Linked DNA regions of Homo sapiens: region 2 is linked to region 1. The links are contacts of gene promoters, found by promoter capture Hi-C in blood cells and fetal thymus (Javierre and others, 2016). All regions are on one chromosome and are shown on one strand. The core of a region is centred on a gene start or on the middle of the fragment in contact, and the rest is flanking DNA. Distances in the headings are between cores, read along the strand shown. Region 1 holds the start of RFC2 (replication factor C subunit 2). Region 2 holds the start of CLIP2 (CAP-Gly domain containing linker protein 2).

Region 1 (5,946 bases), core at 1,164-3,663:
TTACTCCGGAGGCTGAGGCAGGAGAATGGCGTGAACCCAGCAGGCAGAGCTTGCAGAGAGGCCAGATTACGCCAATGCGCTCCAGCCTGGGCGACAGAGGGAGGCTCCATCTCAAAAAAAAAAAAAAAAAAAAAAAAAAAGGCCAGGTGTGGTGGCTCACGCCTGTAATCCCAGCACTTTGGGAGGCCGAGGCGGGAGGATCATGAGGTCAGGAGATTGAGACCATCCTGGCTAACACGGTGAAACCCCGTCTCTACTAAAAATACAAAAAATTAGCTGGGTGTGGTGGTGGGCACCTGTAGTCCCAGCTACTGGGGAGGCTGAGGCAGGAGAATGGCATGAACCCGGGAGGCGGAGCTTGCAGTGAGCGGAGATCGCACCACTGCACTCCAGCCTGGGCGACAGAGCGAGACTCTGTCTCAAAAAAAAAAAAAGCCACTCACCTCTAGCCTGCTCACGGTGTCTTCATTCCCGACAATTTCATTCAGCTTTACTGGCCTATATTTTTCAACCCTGTTAAGAAAATGCATAAAAATGCTGACATGGTTATCTTCACACTACCCCACAAAAAGCACCTAAGGGTTATCCTGAGAGCTTTGTTAAAAAATTACATACATTCAGTACAACTATGCCAAATGGTTGCAAGTTTTAAATGTAATAAGATGACAGCCAGGCGCAGTGGCTCACACCTGTAATCCTAGCACTTTGTGAGGCTGAGGCGGGTGGATCAATTGAGGTCAGGAGTTTGAGCCCAGTCTGGCCAACATGGTGAAACCTCATCTCTACTTAAAATACAAAAATTAGCTGGATGTGGTGGTGTGCGTCTGTAATCCCAGCTACTTGGGAGGCTAAGGCACAGTAGCTCGAACCTGGGAGGCAGAAGTTGCAGTGAGCTGAGATCATGCATGCCACTATACTCCAGCCCGGGCTACAGAGTGAGACTCTGTTTCAAAAATAAATAATAAATAAATAAAATGTAATAAGATGCCCAAGTGCCATTTGAAAAGTTAAAGGCATGAGAATTGTACAGCATAGGCTTCAAACCTGCCACAGCAGAGAAACACCTGTTGCTGCTGGAGCACGGCCAGCACAGGTCATCTGGAGCAATGTGACACTGTGCTGCAACCCTGTCCGCCCGTCACAAGAGGCCCAGCACATACAGCACTGACATCATTTGGTGTGACAACATGGGTGCAACCAAGCTCCTTTCTCATCCCTTACCTGCCAGTTTCTTTTCTTTTTTTTTTTTTTGGAGACAGAGTTTTGCTCTTGTTGCCCAGGCTGGAGTGCAATGGTGCGATCTTGGGTCACTACCAACCTCAGGTGATCTGCCCACCTCAGCCTCCCAAAGTGCTGGGATTACTGGCGTGAGCCACCATGCCAGGCAAGGATTACCTGCCAGTTTCTGCAGACGTGTGCCAAATACACAGCATAGCTGGCTAGACACCGTAGGCCTAGGCTGGGTACAGTGGCTCATGCCTGTAATCCCAGCACTTTGGGAAGGCGAGGCGGACGGATCACTTGAGATCAGGACTTCGAGACCAGCCTGGCCAACATGGTGAAACCCAGCCTCTACTAAAAACACAAAATTAGCAGGGTGTGATGGTACATGCCTGTAATCCCAGCTACTAGGAAGGCTGAGGCAGAATTGATTGAACCAGGGAGATGCAGGTTGTAGTGAGCAGAAATCACACCACTGCACTCCAGCCTGTGTGACAAAGTGTGACTCCATCTAAAAAAAAAAAATTAACTGGGCATGGTGGTGCGTGCCTGTAGTCCCATCTACTTAGGAGGCTGAGGCAGGGGGATCACTTGAGCCAAGGAGCTGGACATCAGCCTGGGCAACACAGCAAAACCCCCGTCTTGATTTTTTTAAAAAAATTTCAAATGTAAATGTTATTGAACCTAACAGTCAAAATATTATTTTCAACATGTAATCGATATTTTTTTTAAAAGATTGAAGTTTTTGAAAACACTAGGTCATACACTACTATACACAAAAACTTTTGAAAAAACCAACTAGGTCAGAGTAGGTGGCCACCCGGGGTAGCCCTAATTGTCATAAGCATTGTAGTGAGCGAGACTCCGCTCGCAGAGTTTAGACCGGCCACTCTCGATCCATGTCCGTCGCCTTCTTGAAATCATCTCGATGCCACCCGGGGCCTCCTCCTCCCTCGGGATTCCCCAAAACGAGCCCCTGACCCCCGAGTTTCTCCGGAGCACGGCCCGCCACTCGCCCACCCTCACGTCCAAACGCGCCCATTCTTTACGGCCTGGGACCTCACCACGGCAGTTCGTAGTGGCCGGCGCTGCCGGGGGCCTTGCTGAAGGCAGGGGCAGGGTCAGAGTCCTGGGCCTCCACCTCGCCCGCGCCACCACAGACGGCCTCCACCTCCATTCTCGCGCCTCCTCTTCCCGCCACCCGAGGCACCGCCCCTTGACGCCGCCACGCAAGCCCCGCCCCCTGGCTTCCGCCGGGCGCGAGCGGAAGTTACGTACCCGCGCCTCTCTGTGCCTGCGAAGAGGGTTCCGGTGGTGCCCTGGCGGCCATCGCTGGAGGCCGCGGTTGCTATGGGAGACCTGGCGCCCGGCCTGGGAGCGACAGGAAGGCGAGCTGTGGCCGCGACGCCTTCCGAGAAAGCAGGTCGCTCTCGGAACGGACGTTTGTGTGTGGTTTCTGTGGAAGATCCGCTCCGCGGCGGCGTGGGAGGAGCAGGGCCTGGAGGGGTTGCGGCCAAACGCGGGCTTCGGTGTTGGGACACGGACAACGCTGGCGTCCGGGCGCTGCTGGGCAGCGGGGTCCGGGGATGACGTCTGGGGCTGCCCGTGCCCACTTTTCCAGATTGCTCTGAATGTCCTAGTGAGCTGCTCCCGTTGGGTAGGCTCCTGCGCCTCAACCGCGCTCGGTACTCGACGTTTATTATCAGGGAATTCTCGGCTGCAAGATGGGAATTCCACCCCCACCCCATTTTGCAGAGGAGGAAACTGAAACCGTCCTTTTGTCAGATGAAATGCAATGTTCATTCCAGGAAAATAGGGACTCAAGGCCGGTGCGGTGGCTCACCCCTCTAATCCCAGCACTTTGGGGGACAGAGACCGGAAGAGCGATTAAGCCCAGGAGTTCGAGACCAGCCTGGGCAACAAAGTGAGATCCCCGTCTCTACAAAAATAAAAATTAAAAAAGTAGCCGGGCGTGGTGGCGCGCACCTGCAGTTCCAGCTACTCAGGAAGCTGAGGCGGAGGAGTGCTTGAGCCCAGGAGGTGCAGGCTGCAGTGATCTCTGATCACACCACTGCACTCCAACCTGGTCTGCAGCAAGACCCTGTCTCAAAAAAGAAAAAGTAAATACTTCAACCTTGCAAGGGTTTTGAGCATTCTTATGGGCTGTTTTTCTACCCAATCTTTCCTCCCATAGCCCAAATTGTCATAATATTCAATAATGATGATCCCAGAACTTTGGGAGGCTAAGGTGGGAGGATCCCTCAAGCCGAGGAGTTTGAGACCAGCCTGGGCAACATGGTGAGACCCCATCTCTACAAAAAAAATTTTTTAAATTATCCAGTTGTGGTGGTACGCGACAGTAGTCCCAGTTACTCGGGAGGCTGAGGCAGGAGAATCGGTTGAGCCCATGAGGTTGAAGCCACAGTGAACCATGATCAAGTCAATGTACTCCAGCCCCGGGGGACAGAGTGAAATCCTGTTTCTAAAAAAATAAGAAGAAAAGAAAGTAGGTACTTCAGATTCACAAGTGCTTTGACCATTCTTTGTTTTGTTTCTTGTTTTTTGTTTTTGAGATGGAGTCTCACTCTGTCACCCAGACTGGAGTACAGTGGTGTGATCTCAGCTCACTGCAATGTCAGGCTCCCAGGTTCAAGTGATTCTCCTGCCTCAACCTCCCGAGTAGCTGGGACTACAAGCGTGTGCCACCACACCTGGCTAATACTTGTATTTTCAGTAGAGATGGGGTTTCGCCACGTTGACCAGGCTGGTCTCAAACTCCTGACTTCAAGTGATCCGCTTGCCTCAGCCTCCCAAAGTGCTGGGATTACAGGTGTGAGCCACCGCGTCTGGCCAAGCAGTTGGTTTTAACGATAGTATTAACGTATACAGATTCACAACTTAACACAGTGTTTTTCTTTCCATGTAATTTGGAAAAAATGTTTGAATTGGCCATCTCTCCCCTATTCCCCCTTTAAACTGATGGAGCGGTCTTGTCTGTTTTTTCAATCATTATTCACAGGTCTTTTATTTTTCCGGAGGAGAAAATACACACTCCTCTTGAAATATACACTTTTCTTGAAATGTCTCCGCGGTTTTTCCATAGGATTGTTCCTTTGTAATCTTCATGTTTTCCTTGTAATCACTATGACACACATCCCTCCCATCACATAACACAGTTTAGAAACTAATTTTTAATAAGTACAGAACACGGTTCCTTTCATAATTCTCCAAAAACCCCCACTCTACAGGAGGCCTTTTGGCGCTGCTAGGGCTCTCCTCTAACTGATGGAATGCCAGGAGAACCAGAGATGGAGGTGACTCTTAGGGCAAAGCTGCACTGTCAGGACATTTCTTTTTTTTAGACTGAGCCTTTTGTGACCTATTGGACTTGGGCCCAAACAGAGCTCAGAACTTAAAAACTCCAGCCGCTCCCCTGGGACTGAAAAACAGCAATGTTGGGGAACCAGGGAGTGCTGGGGAAACCACAGGCTCTTGTGAAAGGGCATAGAGTAGCCACGGAGAATTCCTCCCAGCAAATCCTTCAAATCTCAGGAAATTAAATACACACTGAGGCTAAGCTCCCAGACTGTCATCACAAGAGGGCAAGGCAGTTATACACCAAGAGGAAGCATGTAGAAAGGAAATAAAATTGAAACCAAAATCCTCTTTCCCCAAATCCAGAGGCTTCCAATCAAATTGTCAGAGAAGTCAGGCAACACATCTTAGTTTGAATGACACCTTGACTTTCACCGTTAGCTTACTTCCTGAGTTATGTTGCAGGATGTAAGGCTGAAAATCTGCTGGCGTGCCAAGATCAGGACTACAGGATAGCCTGGTTTTCTCTCTGCCCACTCCAGCCTCCATTGGCCCAGAATGTCATGCACACTTGATGCTGTTTGCCTTGTTTACATTGAATTTTAAAAGTTCATTATCTTAGTCTGGGCCTGGTGGCTCATGCCAGTAATCTCAGCACTTTGGGAGGCCCAGGCGGGAGGATCGCTTGAGACCAGGCGTTTGAGCCCAACCTGGGCAATGTAGCAAGACTCCTATCTCTATAAAAAAAAGAAAATTTAGGCCAGGTCGGTGGCTCACGCCTGTAATCCCAGCACTGTGGGAGGCCGAGGAGGGCCGATCACGAGGTCAGGAGTTCAAGACCAGCCTGGCCAGCATGGTGAAACCCCATCTGTAGTAAAAATACAAAAATTAGCTGGGCAACAAGAGCGAAACTCCATCTCAAAAAAAAAAAAAGAAAATTTATTATTTGTTTTCAAGTGGATTTCTTTGTGATTTTAAGCTATTTTTTGTTTTTGTTTTTATTTTTTTTTTATTTTGAGATGGAGTTTCGATCTTGTTACCCAGGCTGGAGTACAATGGCATGATCTCGGCTCACTGCAACTTCCGCATCCCGGGCTCAAGCAATTCTTCTGGCTCATCCTCCCATGTAGCTGGGATTACAGGCATGTGCCACCACACCCAGCTAATTTTGTATTTTTAGTAGAGACGGTGTTTCACCATGTTGGTCAGGCTGGTCTCAAACTCCCGACCTCAGGTGATCCGCCCACCTCAGCCTCCCAAAGTGCTGGGATTACAGGCGTGAGCCACCATGCCCAGCCTTTATTTATTTTTTGAGATGGGGTCTCACTCCGTCACCCAGGCTGGAGCACAGTGGCATGATATCGGCTCACTGCAACTTCTGCCTCCTAGGTTGAATAGATTTTCCTGTCT
Region 2 (5,612 bases), core at 2,501-5,000, 35 kb after region 1:
AAAAATAAAATAAAATAAAATGGGATCTTGCTCTGTTGCCCAGGCTGGAGTGCAATGGTATGATCATAACTCACTATAGCCTCCAACTCGTGGGCTCAAGTGATCCTCCCACCTCAGTCTCCCCACTCGCTGGGATGACAGGCATGAGGCACTAAGCTTGGCTCCATATCCGCAGTTTCATGAAGTGTATTTTCCTGGTGGGTGTAAATACGTAACTGTTTCCCCACATTATAACAAATGCCTTGTAAACAGCAGTTCAGACACTGCAAACATATCCCATCCTGTAGCTGTCCTATGGATTCTAAAATGAAAAATAAAAAAATAAAAATAGGCCAGGCGTGGTGCCCAGAGCCTGTAATCCCAGCGCTTTGGGAGGCCGAGGTGGGAGGATCACTTGAGGCCAGGATTTCGAGACCAGCCTGGGCAACATAGAAAGCCTCTGTCTCTACCCCTGAAAAAGTAAAATAATAAATAAACAAATAAATAAATAAATAAATAGTATACCAGAGAGATCGCCACCTGCAAAGCAGCCCAGGCCTCTCCCGTGGCTGGCCCATTGCAGGCCTCAGAGAATTCAGCTCTGGCTCGAAAATTATTCCCAACTCTCTCTTCCCATGAAAAATCCTCCCGTGAGGCTGCTGGTCACAGCCGGCGTCAGCAAGAAAATGACCAAATCAGCAGTTTCAGTGGAGACAAAAGGCCTGGGTGAGAGGTCGGCTGGGAGAACACCCCCTCCAGATCCCCCCGCCTGCCTCCCCACCCATCACGGAGGCCTGATGCCAGGGCAGGGGCCAAGGCCAGGACCCCAACCCTCACATCAGACAGCATCAGGTTCATCTACTGAAAGAAGCAGAAAAACTCGAACGCAAACTTTTTTTTTTTTTTTTTTTTGAGACAAAGTCTTGCTCTTGTTGCCCAGGCTGGAGTGCAATGGTGCGATCTCAGCTCACTGCAACCTCCGCCTCCCGGGTTCAAGTGATTCTCCTGCCTCAGCCTCCCAAGTAGTTGGGATTACAGGTGTGTGCCACCATGCCCGGCTAATTTTTTGTATTTTAAGTAGAGACGGAGTTTCACCATGTTGGCCAGGCTGGTCTCGAACTCCTGACCTTGTGATCCGCCCGCCTTGGCCTCCCAAAGTGCTGGGATTACAGGTGTGAGCCACTGTGCCCGGCCCCCCAAATGCAAACTGTAACAAGACAGAAGCCTGTCTTCTCTCATCTGGAGCAAGAACAAAAGGTGTCCCTCTCAGGTGACTTGCTCTTTGAAGCTCCACTCACCAGCGGCCAGGTAAGGTCTGTTGACCGCAGGCTGTTGCTCTGAATAATACTGGGGGCCATCAGTGAGGGAGGCAGTACCTGTGAAGGTTGGGGGCCCCTGCCTACCTCCTGAGGCACATGTGGGAGGCTAGATCTGCTGGGCAGGGGCTGGTGAGCTCAGGTACATCCCAGCAAGACCCATGTCACCTTGGCAAATCCCTGCCCCATCCCGTCCCGTCCCGTCCCATCCCATCCCATCCCTTCTGTTGCCCAGGCTGGAGTGTAGTGGTATGATCTCCACTCACTGCAACCTTCGCCTTCTGGGTTCAAGCCATTCTCAAGCTTCACCCTCCCGAGTAGCTGGGATTACAGGCATGTACCACCACACCCAGCTATTTTTTGCATCTTCTGTAGAGATGGGGTTTCATCACGTTGGCCAGGCTGGTCTCGCACTCCTGACCTCAGGTTATCTGCCCGCCACCACCTCCTAAAGTGCTGGGATTACAGGTGTGAGCCACTGTGCCTGGCTGGTTTATAACTGTTGATATACAGGTTATGCATCCCAGCCACAAGGAACAATTAGCTCCCTGTTTCCTGAACACTGCCCTCTCCACCCTGAGTCCCCTCCCTCCCTATGGGTTCACACCTCCTACAGAAGCCCAGTCTTTCTGGAGTTCACTCTGAACCTCCTCCCTTATTAGTCTCCAAGTCTGGCTCTCCACACCAACTGGGCACCCCCTCAGGGCTGACCCCATGCCCAGCCTCCATCATTACAGCATTGCATGTTCGCTGAACTGAATTGAAACACTCTCCCCAATTTACAGATGGGGAAACTGAGGTCAAAATGTTTAGGCCAGGCACGGTGGCTCACAGCTGTAATCCCAGCACTTTGGGAGGCTGAGGTGGGAAGATCATCTGAAGCCAAGAGTTTAAGACCAGCCTGGACCCCAACATAATGAGACCCCATCTCTATAAAAAACACAAAAAATTAGCCGGGCATGGTGCATGCCCGTAGTCCCAGCTACTCTGGAGGCTGAGGCAGGAGGATCATTTGAGCCTGGGAGTTTGAGGCTGCAGTGAGCTGTAATCACACCACTGCACTCCAGCCTGGGTGACAGAGTGAGACCCCTTCTCTAAAAAAAGGTTCACTCACTTCTCAAAGATTATGGATACCAAGACAGTTGAGGGGTGGTAATGTTAACTTAGTAAGTTCATTCATTCATTCAACAAATATTACTGGATGTCTACCCTCTGCCAAGCATTGCACTGGGTCCCTTAGGGGATAGGAACAAGATCGTATGTGGCACTTCTCTCCCGCAGAACAGTGGTCTCACCATACAGACCACAACCTCCCCCAACACCCACATTCCTGCACTCAAGGGAAAAGCAGGGACATTTAAGCTGTGCTTTGAAGGGGGAATATGATTTGTCAAACAGAGAAAGGGGGCAGGGCAGGACTGGTAGAACGGCCAGCTAGGTCAAAGGCATCCAGGCGAGCTTATCAAGGGGGGACAGAGGGAAACCAAGCCACAGAAGCCAACCGCAGCCTGGGCATGGACAGGGGCTGGGGCTTGGTCACTGTTTAGTTCCTGAGCTGTCACTTGGCATCTGCCTCTCCACGCAGGAGGGGACCTGGCAGCTGCCTCAACTCCTCTGAAATAGCAGTACATGCATCCTGTCCTGGGGAGGGTTCATTTGTATCTTGGAAGCTGATCACCATGAGATCCTTTTTTTTTTTTCTTTTGGGACGGAGTCTCGCTCTGTCACCCAGGCTGAAGGGCCGTGGCTTGATCATGACTCACTGCAGCCTCGACCTCCTGGGCTCCAGCGATCCTCCCACCCCAGCCTCCCCAGTAGCTGGGACCGCAGGCGCGCGCCCAGCTAATTTTTGTATTTTTTGTAGAGACGAAGGTTACGTTGCCCAGGTTGTTCTCGGACTCTTGGCCTCAGGCGATCTGCACGCCTTGGCTTCCTGAAGTGCTGGGATTACAGGCGTGAGACACTGCCCAGGCTATGAGATCCTTGATAACCATGAGACCCTGTGCCACAGTTCCCCACCCACGCTGGCCCCAACACAGACCTGAAGTTTTCGCCCCAGCTGCACTGTCCCCCTCCTCATCCTTTCTGTCCAGCGCCAACAGCATCTCACCTTCCCAAGCTGCCGTCCTTCCCAATGACCAGAGACATCTTTGCAAGCATAGCATGGCTGGAGGATGCGTTTCACCAAACGCGATGTAAGCACCACCAGGTGCCCAGCGCGGAGGTGGATGTGGGCGAACCCTGGACGCCCCACAAAGGACAGCTGCGGCCTGGGAAGGGAAGGAGATGGAGCGGGGAGAGGGGGAAGAGGTTGCTCCGCGTTTTCCGCCCGCCCGCCTGCTTTCCGCGAGGCACTGAGGCCTGAAAACCGCGAGGCCGCCCACGCGCGCCTGACCCGCCCCCCCCTCCCGCCCGCCCCAGGCCCCGCCCTCCCGCGCCCGCCCCTGCGCCGGCCCCTTTTGTTCCCTCCCGGAGCCGGGCCGCTGGCTCCGCTGGCTCCGCTGGCTCCGCGGGCGCTCAGCTCGGCTCGGCCGCGGGGCGCGCAGGCGGCTGCTGGGCGGCCTCGGTGCGCGCCTCCCGCCTTCCCAGAGACGTGGCGCGAGGCCCGGGCCCTGAGCACCTATCGCGGGGATCCCCGGCGCCAGGAGGGGGTGCAGCCGGTGGGCAGCGCCGCGCAGGGAGGGGCCGCAGCATCCTCGCCCCCCAGCGCGCCCGGGCCCGAGAGGAGGAGGCCGGGGCTCTCCGGGCCTCCCGCCGCTTAGCCTGATGCTGGAAGGACGAAGGTAGGGGCTGCTGGAGGGGCCGAGGGAGGGGGTCGCGCGGGCAACAAAGGACGGAGAGATGCGGGGGGCGGCGGCCTGGCCGAAAGCGGGGCTGCGGGCCCGGAGGCATTGTCGGGGCGTGGGCGGGGGCGGGAGGGTTCGAGGCCGGCCGGTGGGCGTGGGCGGGAGCTGGCTGGGGTGTGCCCCAACTTCCCCGTTGCTTGTAGGAGAGGAGGGGGCACTGCTTGGGGTGCCAGGGTTGGGGGCTATTCCCGGGCTGCGGGTCCCCCTGTTGAAGGCATCACCAGCCTCATCGGGGTCCCTACCCTCGGACGGGGGTTTGGCCCTTCTGTTGGAGGGTCGCCCGTACCCCCTTCCAAGGGCAGAGCAAGACGGCTGGACGCGCCGCAGGGCTCTCTGGGCTCACAGAGCCTGGGGAGCACAGCCTGGTGGGCGCGGCCATGCAGCCCCCATCTCCAAACCTGGGGTCTGGGAGAACAGGGACTGCCCCCCTCTCCTCCCTGCTACACCCTCTGGGGTCGCCTGGCCGATGGCCTTTGCAAAACTTGGTTGAAGTGCTTGGCTGAGGTGGGGTAGGAGGAGATTGAGGCGGGCGGCTTCTCTCAGGGGGTGTCCCCCCAAGCTGGCGCTGGTGGCTGGTGAGGCAGCAGATTTTCTGCCCTCCTCCCGGGGAGGGGCGGCGGCCGCGGAGGATGCTTGGCTGAACCTTCAGGGCCCGCCCGTTTGGACCTTTCAGGCAGAGCTTGGGCCGAGCGGGTGCCCACTGGGCACTGCCACGCAGGCCCCAGCCCCACCCTGGGAAGGACGGGCAGAGGGAGCACCTTGGGGGGAAATCACCCACCCAGCAGTGTGTCCCCCAACGTCTGAGACCCCTCCTCTCACTTCTGGGTGAGAAGTGGGGGTCTGGGATGAGGGGGTCTGCCGTCACTCTTGCGCGATGCCTGAGGGAGGTGGGTGGGGTGGCCTAGGGCTGTGGGCAGAGGAGGAGGAGGGTGCGGGGAGCACCACGTGTGTGCTTCAGAAGCCTCTTCCCTTTCGGTTGTAAATGTAAACAATAAGCCCTTCATTCAGCTGCTGTTACCTGGCCTGGCACTTCTAGGGGCTGGCTGGTCCACAGGACAGCAGCCTCGGTGTCCCCAAAAAGTGCAGCCCCGGGGGTTGATGAGTGCATTAGTGGGGAAGCTGGGGGCATAGAGGGGGTCCCCTGGAGGATGGGGCAGACCAGGAAGCTTCATAGAGCATCTTGCAGAAGTTTGCTGCCAGGTTGCCTGAAGGGGGTTTCGTGCAGGAGAAATAGCGTGAATAAGGGCTTGGAGTCAGAAAAGGAGGCTATTGGGTTAGAGAAACAGCTTAGGATTTAAGGAACTTAGACCTGCGTTGAGCACAGGATGCATTCTTGTCTGCAGTGCCTTGCGGGGGAATGATGGGATTCTGGCTTCAGGACAGGTGGAGGCGGTGGAGATGGAGAGGGGCTCCAAAGGCAGAAGAGGCAGGTGGAGGCGCCTGGGAGGAGCCTCCTCCACACACACCTGTG

The links. The method cuts DNA at HindIII sites, captures the fragments that hold promoters and counts their contacts. A CHiCAGO score of 5 or more calls a contact.
Region 2: the fragment with the promoter of CLIP2 here is called in contact with the fragment with the promoter of RFC2 in region 1 in 2 of 17 cell types (fetal thymus and naive CD8 T cells); the score reaches 6.2 in fetal thymus.

The regions. Positions count from the first base shown.
Region 1 is chr7:74,251,986-74,257,931 of GRCh38, forward strand. RFC2 (replication factor C subunit 2) reads right to left here and starts at 2,414. Exons shown (of 11, transcript NM_181471.3): 1 at 2,286-2,414; 2 at 444-513. The coding sequence starts at 2,398. RefSeq lists enhancers at 1,446-2,048, 2,049-2,651, 2,088-2,317, 2,652-3,254, 2,728-2,807 and 2 more and a silencer at 2,368-2,487. The HindIII fragment of the contact is 11,375 bases long and covers 1-5,946 here.
Region 2 is chr7:74,285,657-74,291,268 of GRCh38, forward strand. CLIP2 (CAP-Gly domain containing linker protein 2) reads left to right here and starts at 3,751. Exons shown (of 17, transcript NM_003388.5): 1 at 3,751-4,078. It overlaps LOC107986742 (a long non-coding RNA gene), which reads right to left and starts at 3,651. Exons shown (of 2, transcript XR_001745024.2): 1 at 3,406-3,651. RefSeq lists silencers at 3,670-4,139, 4,160-4,229 and enhancers at 4,105-4,749, 4,750-5,393. The HindIII fragment of the contact is 3,709 bases long and covers 1,597-5,305 here.